6 separate regions of the Homo sapiens genome follow, and regions 1, 3, 4, 5 and 6 are each linked to region 2. The links are contacts of gene promoters, found by promoter capture Hi-C in human tissues and cell types (Jung and others, 2019). All regions are on one chromosome and are shown on one strand. The core of a region is centred on a gene start or on the middle of the fragment in contact, and the rest is flanking DNA. Distances in the headings are between cores, read along the strand shown.

Evidence for each region. The method cuts DNA at HindIII sites, captures the fragments that hold promoters and counts their contacts. A contact is called where the count stands out against the background at its distance.
Region 1: a fragment that was not itself captured here is called in contact with the fragment with the promoter of SALL3 in region 2 in 4 of the 25 tissues and cell types used here (H1 embryonic stem cells, mesendoderm cells, neural progenitor cells and 1 more).
Region 3: a contact is called between a fragment that was not itself captured here and the fragment with the promoter of SALL3 in region 2, in 3 of the 25 tissues and cell types used here (H1 embryonic stem cells, IMR-90 fibroblasts and mesendoderm cells).
Region 4: a contact is called between a fragment that was not itself captured here and the fragment with the promoter of SALL3 in region 2, in 1 of the 25 tissues and cell types used here (H1 embryonic stem cells).
Region 5: a fragment that was not itself captured here is called in contact with the fragment with the promoter of SALL3 in region 2 in 2 of the 25 tissues and cell types used here (H1 embryonic stem cells and neural progenitor cells).
Region 6: a contact is called between a fragment that was not itself captured here and the fragment with the promoter of SALL3 in region 2, in 2 of the 25 tissues and cell types used here (H1 embryonic stem cells and neural progenitor cells).

Annotation. Positions count from the first base shown.
Region 1 is chr18:78,710,723-78,713,953 of GRCh38, reverse strand. No RefSeq gene overlaps it. Among named protein-coding and RNA genes, the nearest start is that of LINC01896, 270 kb to the left of the region's middle. The HindIII fragment of the contact is 5,899 bases long and covers 1-3,231 here.
Region 2 is chr18:78,978,473-78,981,446 of GRCh38, reverse strand. It overlaps SALL3 (spalt like transcription factor 3), which reads right to left and starts at 1,629. Exons shown (of 3, transcript NM_171999.4): 1 at 1,091-1,629. The coding sequence starts at 1,172. LINC01896 (long intergenic non-protein coding RNA 1896) reads left to right here and starts at 1,756. Exons shown (of 5, transcript NR_187297.1): 1 at 1,756-2,407; 2 at 2,709-2,974. RefSeq lists an enhancer at 1-212. The HindIII fragment of the contact is 21,440 bases long and covers 1-2,974 here.
Region 3 is chr18:78,571,422-78,574,301 of GRCh38, reverse strand. No RefSeq gene overlaps it. Among named protein-coding and RNA genes, the nearest start is that of LINC01896, 410 kb to the left of the region's middle. RefSeq lists an enhancer at 1-401. The HindIII fragment of the contact is 3,961 bases long and covers 1-2,880 here.
Region 4 is chr18:79,262,019-79,264,944 of GRCh38, reverse strand. The region is part of intron 12 of ATP9B (ATPase phospholipid transporting 9B (putative)); the gene reads right to left. Among named protein-coding and RNA genes, the nearest start is that of NFATC1, 130 kb to the left of the region's middle. The HindIII fragment of the contact is 5,737 bases long and covers 1-2,926 here.
Region 5 is chr18:78,678,288-78,681,404 of GRCh38, reverse strand. No RefSeq gene overlaps it. Among named protein-coding and RNA genes, the nearest start is that of LINC01896, 300 kb to the left of the region's middle. The HindIII fragment of the contact is 5,655 bases long and covers 1-3,117 here.
Region 6 is chr18:78,594,788-78,598,008 of GRCh38, reverse strand. No RefSeq gene overlaps it. Among named protein-coding and RNA genes, the nearest start is that of LINC01896, 380 kb to the left of the region's middle. The HindIII fragment of the contact is 4,580 bases long and covers 1-3,221 here.

The sequences.
Region 1 (3,231 bases), core at 536-3,035, 270 kb after region 2:
GTTTTATCCTTACATCTGCCCCATGTCCGGCGCAGGGTGGTGGACCGTCTGGGGCCACTCTCCCTCTCTCCCTGTCTGCTCTCCTCAGTGGCCGTTCCCTCATGGGCACAGCAAGCTGCCCGGAAGGTACTGCAAAGCCTATTTAAGTTTCAAAGACACAGGCAAGGAAAGTTTACCTTATGAGTGACTGAAGATGGGGCAGTCAGAGAGGCTGCAACCAGCCATTTACATGAATCTGATGTCGTGGCATTCTGGCTGTTTATTTACCAAGATGCTGCTGCATCAAAGGCAATATGTGGTGCAGAAACCAGGACTTGGGAGCTTTTGGCCTAAAGTGAAAAGCCGGAAAACCCACACGAACATAGGTGTCATAGTGTTCGGTGAATTACTGCTTTTTGAGAGTACATTGAAAAGAAAAACCATATTCTTTCCAATTATCTGAAATAAATATTACATGGAGTTATTTGAAAACAAATTCTTGCTTTCTCCTTTGGAATCTGACAGTGTTTGTGACTCCAGAATTTTCTCTCTCTGCTTCCCACTTTTCTCACCATGGAACTTCTTGTATATAGCTCAGCATTCCTTGGAGAGCCAGGACAGGATCCCCAGTTACCCGGGATGAGGAGAAACAGCCACACCCTGTTAGGCGACAATCCTCCAGGACCATGGACAGCAGCACACTTGGGGTCGCGGACCCTATCACAAACTCATGTCTACAGCAGTCACTATCTGTCTTCAGGCCTGTCCGCCCCTGGCTATTGGCTGCTGGGAAGTTCTGGTTTTCTTTTCTTTTTATATTTTCTTACCGTGGCTGTACATGTATTTGTGTGTTTCAATTAATGTACAAATGTCCATTTTTTAGATAGAAGTCCCTGTTCTGCCAACCACTTTTCTGTGAACTTGGGAAAATGACTTCACATTTTTTCTTAGCTTTTTTTGTCTGTAAAATGAGAATAATAATATTCTATTAGTGCGTGGCAATACTGAGATAATTCATGAACACACGTTGACAAGTGCCTGGTATACAGTAAGTGCTCAATTAGTATCAATTGTTATTCTCATCATGTTTTGTATGCCTTGGGTTCTGACTTGTTCCACCATACATTTCCCATGGCCTTTAGGTGGATATAGTTCTTTGAGATGGTAGCTCTTTCTCTGTTCCTTTTGCATACAAGGACACTCCATTGATTTGTGAATGAGGATGCTTACTGGACAAATACTGGCACAGAACTCAATTGCCCTGCCAGAGAGCAGGCACCCAAGGCACCCTGTATGTTCACCTTTGCAGGGGGAATCACACACCCTACAGAAATGTAGAACAAGAAGTCTAAGCAACTCTCCTTCTCATTCTCCCATTCCCGGGGGCCAGTGGTCACATACTTTTGTCATATGATCTAATAAAAGGCTCAAATCTTACAGTGTCATTCAGAAAGGACCAAAAAACCTGCATCTGTAAAGGTGGTTCAGAACCTGAACATTTTCCAACAGATTAGGGGTATTTAAATACTATCCTTGTTTAGTTAAGTATTGGTTTAATATGTAAGTTTTGTTTCTACAAGAGCCTTGAGAGAATTTTTTAAAAAGAGTGTTTTAAAGTTTTCTAATTTTCTGGGATTCTGTCAATTGATATGTGTTAGTCAGCTTGGGTTGCCATAACAAAATACCATAGACTGTGGCTCACACAGTGGAAGTCTATTTTCTCACAGTACTGGAGGCTGGAAAGCTGGAGGCTGGAAGGCCAAGCACAGGTGCCAGCAGGGCCGGAGTCCGGGGAGGACCTCTTCTGGGTGCAGCTGCCATCTTCCTGCTGAGTCTCACGTGGTGAAGGGTGGGCAGTGGGAAGAACCCTCCTGTCTGTTCTCATAAGGGCACTGATCCCATTCGCAAGTGCTCCTGCCTTGTGATTTAATCAGCTCCCAATGTGCCCATCTCCAAACTCCATCAGAGTGGGGATTAGGGCTTCCATTTATGAATTGCAGTCCATACCATGATAGTTTCCAGGATCTGAGGCACTCAACATGGAACATTTTATCAGTTATGCAACTCAGCTCCATCCCACTAGAATAGGACAGGTAGAATGGAAAGAAGTAAACTTGGAAGGATTGATGCTTCAAATTGTTGAGGCAGAGGATCTTTCTTGAGCCACAGTTGAGCAGCTCTGTCCAGCAGAGCATTTGGCATTTAGGGTCTTGTACCTCTGAGGAGTCACAGTGCCCCTGACTTGTTAAGATGCCCAGGGTGCGCTGGCCACCTCTGAAGGCAGCTAAGACTCCCCATGGGGGTTAGGGCAATTGCTTTGAACCCTTTCTTCTTTCAGATAAGTTTTAATTAAAAATAATTTTTTTAGAGACAGGGTCTTGCTCCGTTGCCCAGGCTGGAGTGCAGTGGTGCAATCATCACCCACTGCAGCCTTGACCTCCTGGGCTCAGGCGATCCGCCTGCCTTAGCCTCCCGAGTTGCTGCGACCACAGGCGTGAACCACTGTGCCCAGCTTCCAAGTGCTTCTTTCCTTCTCACATTCTGGTGCCACATTCTTGGGCCTGTTTCTCTTACCTGACTTCCTGCTACTGACTCCATAATTTCCACTAGGATTCGGTGTCACTGATATTTTATTTCAGACTTCTAAGAACACCAACTTTGCTGGCTTTTAGCACCATGTATTTTCTCTGTAAAGAATGTCTGCTTCAGCTCCAAACCCCGCACCCCGACGGCATCCTGTCTAGGCTGACTCTTGCCTTTTACTTTGGGAATGGGAAGATGGGGGGAAATTAGGACTCCTCAGTTTGTTCTGTTTCTTTTTAGGGGAGGTACTCGTGTCCTATGATCCTTCGTGCCATTTTTTGATTGCCCAGGAATGGAAGATTATAATCTGGCATTTTCTGTTTTCAGTAGCAGGTGAGACCCTGGACTGGTCACATTCCCTCCTCACCCTGCTCTCCTCTGGCCTCTGCAAAGAAAGTTCATCTGATCATGAGTTAATCAATCAAATTTGTTAGTGATCGCATGTTGACTGAGTGCCCTCTGTGTTTACATATTTGATTTGGTTTTCATTTATCCAGGTTCTCTTCCCCACAATTGCTTGTGTAAACTCTTTCTATTTGGGGTCCCACTTCTTACAGGAAGCCCTCCCTAACCGCCTGGGGGCAGGGCACACCCCTTTCCCTGGTACTGAGCTGTGCTCCGCCTGAGTCCCCACTGTACTGTGAACTCTACAAAAGGAGGACCTGGTCT
Region 2 (2,974 bases), core at 380-2,879:
TCACCATCTGCCTCCAACAACTTATAACAGGTCAATCATAAAAGTTGGCCTGCCTGTTTTTTTAAGGAGCAAATTATTTTACTGCGAGCTGTGCTGCGGGCTCGGGGTCGTGGGGTCGCCCCTCCTCGGCCCTCTTTCCTGGCGCCCTGGGGGCCCCGCGGGGCGCGCCGAAGCCCGGGCGCCGCCGGCCGAGGTTTTGACTCGACGAAGGGGGTGGGGGCGCCCCAAACTTTGCGGGGCTAAGGCGCCACTCTGGGAAGTCCAGCCCTTTGCCAGTCTCTTAACTTTCGCGGCGCCTGCCCTTTGCTCTTGGATGTTTCGAAGAGGACGCTCCTACCAGCGAAATGACTGCAAAGCCGAGGTCTCCAGCGCCCGGCCTCGGCGGATCCAAAAAGACGGGAGAGAAAAGGCCCGCGCAGACGCTGCAACGAACGCCCCGGAAACACGCCGCGAGCAGGGGCCAGGCCCAGGCCGCCGCCGCTGCGCTCACCCCCAGCTTAATTCCCCGGGCGGCCATTAGGCAGAGCCAAGCCCCCGACCTTCTCCTCGCCTCGCGAGGGATCACAGGCTGCGTCAACGCGCTGGGACACCGCGGGTCACCCGAGGCGGTGCGGGGGCCCGGGAGGGGCCGCGGGCCCCCGAACAAAGCTGGCCGGGCGGCGGGGTCCCCAACCCGCGTCCAGCGGTAGGTGGGCTGCGGTCGCCTTCCCCGCCGCCGCCGGCCTCAGCGTCCTGGCGCAGAGACCCTGGGGGGCGGCGCGGCGGCGGAGGCACCGTGGACTCCCTCCCGCCCCGGCCTCCGAGCCGTCCTCGAGCCGGCCGCGGCCTCGGCGCCCTTCGCGGGCAGCTCCCCGACTCCGAGGAGAGGAGCCAAGTTTACTTCGCCCACAACTCTCTCGGCGGCCGCGCGCGCTCCGGCGAAGTACCCGGGGCCCCGCGGCCGGCCTGGCGCGGGGCGGACGCTTGCCCGCAGGAAGCAGGGAACTTTCTCCCGCTCCCGGACGCGCGCATCCGCTCCCGCCGCACGCGCTTCCCCAGCCCGGACGGGCAGCCCCAGACCCCCCGGCCACCCCGCAGCCCCGGCCCTCACCGTGCTCGGGAGCCCCGTCAGGCGGCAGCAGCTCCTCGTCCGACTTGAGGTGCTGGGGCTTGGCCTGCTTGCGCCGAGACATGCTGCTAGCGGCGCTCGGGCCCCGCGCGGGGCAGCGGCATCAGCGGGGCGGCCGGCGGGGACGGCGCGGGGCGGCCTGGCGGGCGCGCGGCGCGGGGCGCGGGGCGGCGGCGGCTGCGCGGGCCGCGCATGGGGCTGAGCAATTAGGCTGGTGAATAATGCATGGCCATTAGCGGAGGGCCGCGCCGATTGGCCGGGCTCCAGCGGACTCCGGCGGCCTATGCAAATGAGGCCGCGCTCGCAATTAGCGGCCGCGCCGACGAGGAGGGGGCCGCGGCGCCTCGGGACCGGGGCGCGCGCTGCCCGGCGCCGCCTCACATCGCGGGCTCCGGCGCCGCGCTCCTCGGCCGCCCCGGGTGCGGCTGTGGCGGGGCCCGGGTGCGGCGCGGGCCGCGGTGGCCGTCCCTCCGCAGGGCGCAGGCAGCAAACTTTGGCGGCGTCCGCGCGGCGCCGTCTCCGCCGGCGCGCCGGGCTCGCCCCTTTATAGAGTGTCTGCGCCGCCGCCCGCGCCCCCCCCGCCGCCGCCGCCGGGCGGCCCCTCCCGGAGCGAGCGGCCGCGGGCAGGGCTCCGACCCGGCGCCTTTGTCTCGCCCGGGCCGCTCGGGCGCCGCGCCTCCTGTTCCGGGCGCGCGGGGTCGGCCGGCCGCCTTCGCTGCTCCGCCGCGGCTCTCAGCGCCGCTCAGCGCGGCGGGCCCGCCCGGGCTCAGGTGCCCCCCGCTCTCCGGACCTTCTCGCCCGGCCCCGCGTCCCCTCCGCGGGCTTCCCCCGGCGGCCGGCCGGGCTCGGAGGCTCGCGGCCGGAGCGGAGCGGAGTGCGCACGCCGGGGTGGCAGGACTTCGGCAAGACCAACTTTCCGGTTCGGAAGCGGCGCGGGCCGCGCGGCTCCTCCCCTCCTCTCCCTCCCCTGCGTTCCCCCTCCCTTCCACTCCCCCCTCTCCCCGCCCCCCAACCCGCGGGCCCCACCGACTCCGGAGCGCCCGCCCCGCCCGCTGCTGCCACCGGGCCGCCTCGCCCCCGCGCCAGCCCGCCTGGGCCTCTGCGCCGCCGGCGGCTTCTTAAATACAGGAAAGGGAGGGGACCGCAGGGCCCCGGTGTTCCCCACCCTAGTCCCCCTTCACCACGGGCCACCGGGCGCCAGCGGAGTGGGCAGCGAGCGCGACCGAAAGTTCCAACTCCACCAAACTCCCGCGCGCGGCCCACCCTTTCCCGGGATTTCGGGGATGACACGGGGGCCAGGTGAGGGGGCTGCGCACTTCTGGATCGGCCCCACACACTCGGCCCCTGGCGCGGCGCGCTCCCCGCACACGCGCCCGCCCCCTCCCCGCGGTCACACGCACGCGCCCTCGCCCTCGCCCCGCGCGCACAGGCGCGTACTCCCACCCGCGGCCGTGCACCCGCCGCGCTCCTTCCCGCGCGTGTCCTCTCTCCCCGAGCGGCCGCCAGGATGTGCCCCCGGCCCCGTCGTCGCCGCGCCCGCGCCCCTCGCCCCAGTACGTCTTTTTTCGTTTCCTAAATTTCTTATTTTTGTCCTTGCAAGTGGTCCTGTCTGGTGTGAACCGTCAGCACAGATGGCCTCCTGGAGCTTCCCCGAGTCGTTCGCTGGGGGAAGCGGGCGGTGAGCGGCCAGCCCGGGCGCTCCGCAGGCCGCGAGCTCCCGGCAGGGCTGGTGGCGGGGGTCCGCCTGGGGGAGGAATCCCCGCCTGCTCCATCGGACCCGGCCTGGCGCGGCTCGCGGCGCTCGGCGGGCTCCCTTCCATTCTAGAATCTTCCCGCTTGCTTCCCAGCCCGCGTTCTTCCGCCTGC
Region 3 (2,880 bases), core at 241-2,740, 410 kb after region 2:
CCGAGGCTGTGCAGGGCAGCAGGGCCCTGGTCCTGGCTCAGGAAACCACTTTTCTCTCCTATGCCTCTGGGACTGTGATGGGTAGGGTACTCTGGAGATCTCTGGAATGGCTTCAAGGCATTTTTTCCCATTGTCTTGGCAATTAACATTTGGCTTCTCTTTACATATGCAAATTTCTTCAGCCTGCTTGAATTCCTCCCTAGAAAATTGATTTTTCTCTTCCAACACATTTCTGGGCTGCAAATTTTCCAAACTTGTAGGCTCTGCTCCCCTGTGAAACATAAGTTCCTGTTTTAGGTTATTTTTGCTCATGCATATGAACATAGGCTATTAGAAGCATCCAGGCCACATGTTGAAAGCTTTGCTGATTAGGAATTTCTTCAGCCAGATACCCTAAATCAACACTCTCAAGTTCAAAGTTCACAGATTCCTAGGGCAAGGTCACAAAGCAGCTAATTGCTTTGCTAAGAAACAAAAGTGACCTTTGTTCCACTTCCCAATAAGTTCCTCATGTCCATCTGAGACCTCCTCAGCCTGAACTTCATTGTCCATATCACTCTCAGCATTTTGGTCCAACCATTCAACAAGTCTCTAGGGAGTTCCAAACTTTCATCTCCCTGTTTTCTTCCGAGCCTTTCACACTCTTCCAGACTCTGCCAGTTACCCAGTTCCAAAGCTGGTTCCACATTTTCAGGTATCTTTATAGCAATGCTCCACTCTTTGGCACCTATGTTCTGTATTAATCCATTCTCTCACTGCCACAAAAAATACCTGAAACTGGGTAATTTTTAAAGAAAATAAGCTTAATTGGCTCACAGTTCTCCAGGCTGTATGGAAAGCATGGTGCTACATCTGCTTGGGGAGGTCTCAGGAAACTTTCAATTATGGTGGAAGGTGAAGGGGAGGCAGACATCTTACATGGCCTGAGCAGGATGAAGGGGGGTGGGGAGTGCCACGCACTTTAGCCATGGATCTTGTGAGAACTCACTCACTGTCATGAGAACAGCAAGGGGGAAATCCGCTCCCATGCTCCAATCATCTCCCAACATATCCCACTTCCAACACTGAAGATTACAATTTGACATGAGATTTGTGCAGGGACGCAGGTCTGAAGCCTCCATGCCCCACACCCTTTGCTTTCATGTGATTCTCACAGGATGTGCATATGTAGGCTCAGCCAGAGTAACAGGGCTGCCTGCACCATGCCCCATGCCAACTCCTTGCTGGTGTGGCTTTCTAGCAATGCTACAACAAATCACTGCAGCTTAGTGGCTTAAAACCACACACATTTATTCTTCACAGTTCTGGGGTTAATGTTCAATAGGGGTCTCATTGGCTAAAAGTGGGGTGTCTGCAGGGTGAGTTCCTTCTGGGTGCCCTAGGGCAGAAACCATCCCTGAGTTTCCCAGCTTTGGTGGCTGCCCACACCCCTTGGCTCCTGGTCCCTCTTCCACCTCCAAAGTCAGCAGCACTGGCTGGCCTCTCACACAGCAACTTCCTGCCACCAGCTCTCTGGCCTTTCTCCCCGACATTGCAGAACCTCTGCCATTATGTCAGAGCACCTGGTCCATCCTGGGAAACCTCTTTAGTTAAACTTAGTTGATGGGCAAGCTCACTCCTGCTCACCTGTAACCATTCACAGCTTCCCAGGACTGGGACAGGGACATCTCCGGAGACTGCCGTCCCCCTCACCTGTAACCATTCACAGCTTCCCAGGACTGGGACAGGGACATCTCCGGAGACTGCCGTCCCCCTCACCTGTAACCATTCACAGCTTCCCAGGACTGGGACAGGGACATCTCCGGAGACTGCCGTCCCCCTCACCTGTAACCATTCACAGCTTCCCAGGACTGGGACAGGGACATCTCTGGAGACTGCCGTCCTCCTCACCTGTAACCATTCACAGCTTCCCAGGACTGGGACAAGGACATCTCTGGAGACTGCTGTTCCCCGATACTTGCTTTACAACTTGGTAAGTCAGCCAGGCTTCCCATCGTGCAGACACACTGCTGGCCAATGTCCCTTCTCATCTCCTACCCAGCACAGGTAGGCAGGGGTGTGGGGGGAGGGGGACCCTCTACAGAGGCTCCGCCACCACTCAGGGGCCCCACCACCACCCATGGGTCCTGCCACCACTCACGGGCCCCGCCACCACTCACGGGCCCCGCCACCACCCATGGGTCCTGCAACCACTCATGGGCCCCACCACCACTCACGGGCCCTGCCACCACCCATGGGTCCTGCCACCACTCACATGGGCCTCACCACCACCCACGGGTCCTGCCACCACTTACGGGCCCTGCCACCACTCACGGGCCCTGCCACCACCCACGGGTCCTGCCGCCACTCACGGGCTCTGCCACCACCCACGGGCCCCTTCACTACTCATGGGTTCCGCCACCTCTTACGGGTCCACACTCACAGGCGCCACTTCCTGATGCTGTTGCTCCATGAGGTCAGTCACTCCATGTGATTCACAGTGGGAAGAATGGGGGGTGTCAAGACTAGGCAATGTGTGCAGGGCCACCCAATTAGAAATGGCAGGAATTTGGATTTAAACACGGTTGTTTCTGACTTCAAATCTGACAATTTGCACAACACACATTTAAGAAACATTTGTATGTTTGCAGGAATTTGAGCTCTGAAGCCCGCAAAAGAATGAGTCCTTGCTGATGGGACACTGGCAGTGGCCTCCAGGGAGTGGCCTGTGACTGAGGTCCCTTGATCTGCTTGTGGATCTGCCGCTACATCTTTGGAGTTGAAACAGACACAATGGGAATCCACCCGTCAACTCTCATCATCAATACATTTCCGGTTCCCTAGAGGCCATGGCTGAAAATCTAGCTGGAAATCATTTTATGGATGAATGCCGGCTAACAC
Region 4 (2,926 bases), core at 189-2,688, 280 kb before region 2:
CATGAGGATAGACTTGTTCTATCAAACATCGAACTATTATAAAAGTCTGTTAACAAACACAGTTTGTTATTTGGCGAGAATACAAAAACAGTCCAAGGGAACAGAACAGGTAACCAAAACAGGCCCATGTGTATACAAATGCTTGGTACATGGCAGACGGGGCACTAGGTCACTGGGAAAAGTCTTTTCTATAACTGGTGCTGAGACAATTGGTTTGCAGAAATATGGTATTTAAAAACTGTACTTCACACCATATATATCAAAAAAAAAAACAAAAAACACTTACAGTGGTCAAAGGAAAAACAGTTAAGCTTCTAGAAGATAATGTAAGAGGAGAGTTTCATCTCCTTGGAGTAGGGAAGGATTTTTTAAACAACATAAAAAGTGATAACCAACAAAAAAAAAACCTCATATATTTGGCATGTAAAATCAATAACTGTTTTTTCATAATTTCACCAATGGGTGAGTAAAAAGTCAAACTACAGATTGAGAAAGATATCAGCAAAACATAAGCCGAGAAAGCCTTGGCATCTAAAATATATAAATAACTGCAAGCTGCTCAGAACACCAGACAAAAGACTTAGAAAGTTCACAAAAGAGAAAATCTAAATAGCTAATATATATGTGCATAATTGTTTAGTCTCATTATCAATCTGGGAAATGATCATTAAAACTGCAATGAGAAGCCCACTTATATTAAGTGTTGCTGAGGATGTGAACTATTCTCCACACTGATGTTGGAATGGTAAATTGGTACAAACACTTTGAAAAACAGTTAAACATTATCTGGTAAATTTGACAAATAACACAGCCAAGTAGTGCTGCTCCTAGATATGTTTTTTTTTCCTTTTCTTTTTTTTGAGACAGAGTCTTACACTGTCGCCTGGGCTGGAGTGCAGTGGCGCGATCTCGGCTCACTGCAACCTCCGCCTTCCGGGTTGACGCCATTCTCCTGCCTCAGCCTCCCGAGCAGCTGGGACTACAGGCACCCGCTACCACGCCCGGCTAATTTTTTGTATTTTTTAGTAGAGACAGGGTTTCACCGTGTTAGCCAGGATGGTCTCGATCTCCTGACCTCGTGATCCACCCGCCTCGGCCTCCCAAAGTGCTGGGATTACAGGCGTGAGCCAACGCGCCCGGCCTGCTCTTAGATATCTTATACCAGGGTGCTAACGTGTGGAGTACACATCATGAAATGTTAATAGCAGCACTGCTGCTCACTGTAAAAAAACTGGAAGCAACCCAAACCCCAAAACAGCAGAAAGGATCACTGAATACACTGGAGTGTGCTCATGCAAGAGAATGACAAGCTGCAAGAAATGAGAAGAAGACAACACAACGTCCTGTACACAGCCATGTAAAACAAAAGGAATAAGACAAAAAGAAAACATCCAGTATGATTTCAATTATAGAAACTAGCAAAACAGGAAAAACTAATTCACAGCTGACCCTCAAACAACACAGGTTTGAACTGTGCAAGTCCTCTCAGATATGGACTCTTTTTAGTAAGTCAAGTCAACCCTCCGTATCTGAGGGCTCTGCACCTGCAACCAAACATGCATCAAAACACAGTATTCCTGGGAGGCGAACCCCGCAGACATGGAGGGTCCACTTGTCCCACGGGTAGGTTTTGCAGGGCCCACTGTGGGACTTGGGTACACATGCGTTCTGGTATCCATGGAGGGTGCTGGAACCAATCCCCCATGGGAACCAAGAGATGACTGCATATATTTATATATGCAATTTTTAGGTGGCAAACCTTTAGGAAAAGCAAGAAGTTAACCATAAAAGCAGCATTGTATACATATACCAAAACATTACATTGTATCTCATAAATATATATGTCTATTAAAAATGAAATAAAAATTGTAAAGCCCACACATTACAAAATAAAACAATGCTCAAAGGCTGCTGAAGTAGCTTGTGCAACAAGAAGTAATAACTTTTTTGATAGATTAAAATAAATTTGTTAACTATAATTTTTTTAAAGCCAAGACAGTGATTATTTCAAAAGAAATGAAATGAATTGTGCAAAAATATATTTTCTAAGCCAATATAAAAACTGGCACATAATTCATGCTATAACTAATAAGAGATTTATACAGAAAAAGTATAAAAGGAAACATCTTAAGCGTGTATGGCACCTTAACTCTGAAACTGGGTGAAGATACGGGTGCTAAGTGCTAGATGGTTTTTGCAGCCACGCTGGACCCTCAGGGTTCATGTATGGAATCCCTGGCATATGTACCACGTAAAGGGGATGGACTGTGGTATTACAAAAGCAGTATTAACCAGGTTTCCTGTCACAGCATCTCCACTGACCTTAAAATCTGGAAAACATGCTTCATCATAGAAATGTTTCAAATTGTTTCCCCAAATTCAGAACTCTGAATTTTCTGAGTTCAAATAAGTGAACCAGAAAAAGGGGCTCTTTAGCCAAAATTACTTCTAAACTATGCCCTTTTTCTATCAAATGACTTCTCTGTTCCCCAGCACTATTTCCACAATTAGAGGCAATAAGGTTTGTATATATAAAATAAAACTTTGTTTTATTTCAACTTTATATAAACTTTAGATAAAACTAGTGATGAGAGTTCATGAATTAGCCATGCTCAGTAACTAAAAACGTAACATAAATTATAGAAAAGTATTTTTTTTCCTAAAGAAAAATATATTTAAAAAAAATTCTAAACAAACTTGAATGTTTAGGGAATGGTTTTTGGCTTTTGTTGAGGGCTAGGTTGTGGGGAGAGGAGGAGGAATTAAAGTTTCAGATAATTTTTACTTCTATGGAGAGAAAAAGCAAGGAAAGGGGAGGGAGGGAGGGAGGGGAGCGGGGTGTCCAGATGAAGACGCTGAGGACTGAGCTGCAGGGCCCCGAGGGTACACGCCATTCATCCCTGCACCCTCACACACAGCAGCGTGG
Region 5 (3,117 bases), core at 615-3,114, 300 kb after region 2:
GTAGGTCTCTCTTTGCAGTGAACCCTCCATTTCTGACTTTCTGAAAAACATTTTGAGATGGTGCTCACTCATTTATTTATACAGTTTGCTTCCATGTGATTTTACAGGATAGTCATCAATATGCCATTTCCTACAGCCCTGGGATTCTTTCCGGATTCTTTGATCAGATGTACATTTCCTTGCAGGTTTTACACCCCGCCCCCCCCCCAACACACACACACTGCAGTGATCTTTGGCAGTTTCTTTCTTCCTTAGGGAGAATGGATCTAAAATTAGAACCCTCCTTGGCTGGGTGCCACCTTCCGCGTGTCCTGTACCTGGTCCTGTGTGTTTCTCAGGGCGGGGGACTTACTGCCTCCAACCCGAGTGCAGACAGAACCCGGTACCAGGGGCATGCTTTCTGAATATGGAGGCAGGAGAGGAAAAGGCGGGGAGAAGAGACGAGTGGAAAGGTGGTAAGGAGAAAAAAGGCAAAAGATGGGGAACTCGGGTATGGGACAGAGAGGCCGGCTGGTGGTGGGCTCTCTCGCATGAAGAACAGACTCTGCCTTACTGTCTCTGCACCTGCTTCCCAAGCATTAGCATTTTTATCTGTATCGGTGAGAGTGTGGCAGGAGCTCGCATGGATCTGAGTTCCACGGCACTCGCTGGCTGAGATCCTGCCCTCACTTTGCTGACATGGCCACTGCCTGGTGAAGAAGACAAACAGTGCAGAATTAACAATAGCAATAACAACACCCCAAGTTAGAATTCTGGTGCAAAATGTTCACTTTTCAGGAAAAATAAAACAAAACACTCATGCCTGTAATCCCAGCACTTTGGGAGGCCGAGGTGGGCGGATCACAAGGTCAAGAGATCGAGACCATACTGGTCAACATGGTGAAACCCCGTCTCTGCTAAAAATACAAAAATTAGCTGGGTGTGGTGGCGGGTGCCTATAGTCCCAGCTACTTGGGAGGCTGAGGTGGGAGAATTGCTTGAACTTAGGAGGTGGAGGTTGCAGCGAGCCAAGATTGTGCTACTGCACTCCAGCCTGGCGACAGAGCAAGACTCCATCTCAAAGAAAAAAAAAAAAAAAACCAACAACAAAAAACCAAAAAAACCGAAAAACAAAAACAAAAACAAAAAGCACATGAAAAGAAAGAAAAAACCTGAAGCTCAATTTTTTCTTTTAGAAGCCAGAAAGACGATGTGTGTGGAGGATTAAAGATTGGAATGCAAGTCCCGTCCTCTCCTGGGTCCTGGAAAGACACGAGCCTACGAGCCACCCATTGCACCCCCGAGTCCCCCATGTCTCAGCACTGCTGAGAGCTCATGCATTGCTGTCCTGGGGGTGATCTGTCGGCGGCCGCCAGAATTTGGAGGCTTTGTGGAGCCAACCTGCTGAGGGAGAAGGGCCCCAATTTCCTGTCCAGCCGCTTGGAGCGTCTGGCAAAGATGGAGGCCTGAGAGTGAATTTCTGCCAACCTGTTATCTCAGGATCACAACTTTTCCCCTTCCCAAGAAACAAGTGTTATTATTATATTTTTAATTCCCTAATGTGTGACCCGGCAGCCCGTATCATCTTACAGGGAATGAATAGGGAGGCCAGGGCAGGCTGTGTGGCCAGCGCTTTCAATATCCCCCCTGCGAGCCATTACATCACCCGGCTACTCTCTAAGAGGATTTTCAGCAGGCCTGGCTTCGTTATTAAAATAGTAATTAATTTTTTCCTCTTCACAAAACCCAGGGACCTTCAGATGGAGGCCTTGGGAGCGAGGGCAATCTCCTTTTGAAAGTGGCCTTTCTGGAAGCCATAATCGGCTCTCCAGCCCTCCGTACACATGTTCCCCAGTAAATGTGATTAAAGAGCCACACAAAAACCCCCTTGCAGAAAATTAATTCAGTTTCCAGAATAAAAAGTTTGATAAAGTTGTGCAATGCTCCAATGACAACACATAATAGAGGGGGAAAGTTTTATCCCCTTGAAGGATAAATGAATGGCCAGAAAGGTCTGGTAGTTCCCAGAGTAAAAACATCTGCTACAGCTAATTCACTTTAGCTTTCGATTGTAAAATTCATTAGCCATATCAGGCAGCCGTCATCTCAAACACAAGGCCAGGAAGTACAGTTTCACAGGCTGGGGCGCCACGGCCCTCCTCAGCCATTGCCAGGATCTAGCCCACTGCAGACTGGGACAGACATCCTCCCAGGGACCTCGCAGGCGCTGGATCTCTTGCGGCTGGTGACATCTTTTCAGCCCTTAGGTCTTCTTCAGGGAGTCTCCTTTATTTCTATTCCAAGAGAGGCTGCCCGCTGCAGAGGTGAAGGCCTGGTTAAAGTTCCTGTTCTGCCACTTACTAGTAGCTTAACTTTTCTAAACCTCGGTTTTCTGCCCTATGAAAGAAGAGCGATGATGACTCCTTTTGGGGTTATCATGAGGATTAACTGAGATGATAGACCTAACGGCTTAGCACTGTTCCTGGAAACTGGCAGAGAATTGCCAAGTGGTAGATGCTCTTCCTAGTTAGATGTGGGGGGAAAGAAAATTAGCTCAGAACACAGCTCTCTTGGGGGGCAGAATCTTCCTTAAGTCCTGTGGCTGTTTAACAGTATCCCCTCCAAATTCAGGTCCACCTGTAACTTCAGAATATGACTTTATTAGAAAACAAGGTTTTGGGAGATTTAATGAGTTAAGAATTTCAAGACAACACCATCCTAGACTTAGGGTGGGCCCCGCATCTGAGGACCAGTGTTCTCATAAGAAAAGGAGAAGGCGCAGGCAGAGGGAGGGCTCTGTGAAGATGAGGACAGAGACCCAGGGAGCGGGAGAGGCAGCCACAGTCAAGGAACACCTGGGGCCAGCAGAAGATGGAGGAGGCAGGAAGGATTCTCCCCTGGAGCCCCAGAGGGGGCAGGGCCCATGACACCTTGATGTGGGGCTTGTGGGTTTCAGAACCGTGTGAGAAATCGTTTCTGTTGTTTTAAGCCACCCAGTTTGGGTACAGAGTCCCCTTGACTTACCATGGGGTTAAGTTCGGAGGAACCCACCGTAGGTTGAAAAATCATTAAGTTGAAAAAGCATTTAATACACCGAATATTCCCAGCATCATGGCTCAGCCCAGCCTGCCTTAAACA
Region 6 (3,221 bases), core at 320-2,819, 380 kb after region 2:
TCTTCCACCCTGCCACTGGGGAAAGATGGTACCACCTTCCAACCTGCCACTGGGGAAAGATGGTGAGCTATCATCAGACTTCAACATTGTAAGAATCTTTCTTAATCAGCAAATGTACCTGTATCTATATTTATCTTCTCCTGAATTTGGGGAGAGGCGAAGAAAGAGATTTCCCCATCTCTATTATGAACTACTCAGAAGGTTCTATACTTATGGGATTTTGTCGGTCAATAGGACATTTTCCTCTGAACCTAACATTTTGTATCATTTTCCATGGGTTTCCTCATTTCTTTTCTTAAAGCTTATATAGAAGAATACACTGAAGTATTCAATTCCACACTGTTTAAGTTTTGGGGAATTTTTCTGTAGACTGACCTGCTGTGATGACTTACAGTTAAAGATTGAGATCTATTTTTGAATTACTCTGTTTGAAGTTTTTTTTAATCATTACATTCCTTAACATCTTAAAGTTTACAGTTAAAAAATTTTTATTTAAACAAAATGCAAATCTGGTATAATGATGGTGAAATTACTTTTAGTGTAATCGTTTAAATAATCGACACCCACTGCAGAACTGACGGAGCTCTAACCGTGGGGGTCGCACCGCATGCAAGACCCCTCGCCACCCTCTTTTCAGGCTCCCCATGGGCCTTGGGATCACACCGGGCACGTTCACCATCAGGCACTGCAGGTTGGCCTCAGGACAAAAATGCATTTTTCATCTGACAAGTCCGACGCATGAATAAACAACTTAAATGCAATTTAAGTACTATGATGAGGTGAGGCATAATTAATTTTAAAATCATAGTTAAGTGTGTGGTCTCCTGGCTCATTTAATGTGAGAAGAACATCACTAAATAGCTTGCTTTGCACGGATGGAACAGCCGCTGTCTTCCAAGTGTTGGTGTGTTGTTTCCTTCTCCCTCCTAGACCAGATTTTTTAAGGTTGCTGTGATTACCTCATAAACTATTTGAAAGCTCCAGTTCACAAAAGCATCTTAGAAGTGCCGGGGCTCTGACTCACTTCTCTTTAGTGTCTTTGAAATTTCTGTAGCTCGAATCACAATGGCTCCTGCTGGTGACAGCTCTCTCTCTCTTCCTCTTGCTCCCTTATCTCATATGACTCCTACTAATGTTGTTTTATGGCACTTTCTTAAATGTAACATTTAGCATGATTTCCTTGTATTTACACTTGAGAAAAATAATAATAAATACTACAATTTTAAGTCATTTTGTGGGAAAAATATAATTGTACTGCAATGATGATTCAATGTCACTCTTGCTTTTCAGTGATGCTTATATGTGACCTTTTTTTATCTCCCTGTGGGAAGTCTCAAATTCTGCAATGCAACTAAGGTAGGAAGATGTTATCTCTTTTTCCTAAGTTTGAAAACTAAGACACAGTCTGATTAAGTGAACAATTGATTTAATTATGTCACATATTATCAAAGAATGAGTACCATTCAAAGATTAAAAATATTTATTGGGTTGAAATTCAGCTCCTCACAATGACTCATGAGTGCCAGACATTACGGTGTCTATTTTATAGGTGAGGAAATGGAGGTTGAGAGGAGTTAAACCACTTAACCGATGCCTGACAACTGGTAAATGGCACCAGGAAGTGATTCCAAGTCTGTCGAATTCCAGGCTGATGCTTGTCACCGCTTACCATTCTAACCTCCAAAATCGATTGGCTAGAGGAGACGCTGCCCCTGTTAGAAATAAAGTGAAGGCTTTGTGTCTTCCTCATTCAGTCTCACCATCAGCTCCAGTGGTCTGCAATCCTGAAAGAACACACAGGTGCCATGACAAACCTTATCAAAGCTGAGACAACTGGGGCTCCAGCCCAGCTCCAGAGCTGTGCCATGGCGGGGTGTCATCTGCCCTCCTGAGCACAGCGTGTGAGGTTTAGAGACTCCCAGCAGGGCTCCACCCACACTGCAGTTGCATTGGCCACAGGAGACCCAGGCCATGCTGGGTTCCATCATTTGTCAGCAGGCATTGAATGATCGAAGTTTTGAAAGTATTATGGGAATTCTTATAGAGGTACAACTTAACTATCATCTTTATAAATGGGTAGGCTTCTAGGTGGGGAAGGGGTTTGGATAGTTGCACTGAGAAGTCAATTGGAAAGGAGCCCATGAGGCATCAGTTAATGGGAAAACCACACTTTGGCAATCATAACTTGGCATAGACAGCAACTTATATCTAAGTGTTTATTAGCATTCAGTGCTCAGCACAGGTGTCTTCAAAAATCCAAACCGGGAACAGCAGCTTCAGTTCTGGTGCTTCCAGGTTCTAAAGGCCACAACGTGAGCACATGCTGTCCAGACATTTCCAGCTCTGTTGCTGAAGTGTGAAGAAAGTGCCCAGCCCATGTCTAGATCTGATGGAACTCGTTAGCCTAGGAGCCACAGTCCCTTGAGGCAAGGATGGTGGCTGAGTCATCTTATTATCCCTGGAGTGCATTTTGTACTTATGCTTGTAATATATGTTTAAATAACCACACCCAACTTCAATTTTTATCCCCTGATCTTTTAGTAAAGGCGGTATTGCACCGAAGTGCTCTGGTTCACACTTTATAAAAAGAACTTGCTCTTTTGAGCATGAATTTCCTCACCTGAAAATTGAGTATATTAACAGAATCTGCCTCCTAGGGTTCTTGTGAAATTAAAAGAGATAAAGTGATAGTATCATACATGAGATACATTCATTAGAAGTTTGGAATTCTTTATTTTTAGCAACAATTCCTCTCATCACATCCTCATACACGCTTTCACTTGATGTCAACATGCGAAGTTTGGTGTCTTGGAATGGCCATTCCCTAGGCAGCCCCATCTGCCTTTTAGTTTGAACTTCATAATTGAACACATTTTTATTATTTCAGAAATCACAGCAGGGCTAACATTTATTGAGAATTTACCGGAAGCCTGGCACCATGTTGTGTACATAGCATTGTGAGATTTAACATACATGAATATCATATTATGCAAATAGTGTTTTCATTTACAAATAAGAAAGTGGTGACTAAGAGGGGTAAGTGCCGTCCTAACATGACTCAAGGGCCCCATATGTCCTGGCTCTAGAGCAGGTGTCCCCAATCCCTGGGTCATAGACTGGTACCCATCCATGGGCTGTTAGGAACTGGGCCATACACAGGAGGTGAGCAGTGGGTGAGCAAGTTTTACCACCTGAGCTCCGCCTCCTGTCAGTTCAGCGGT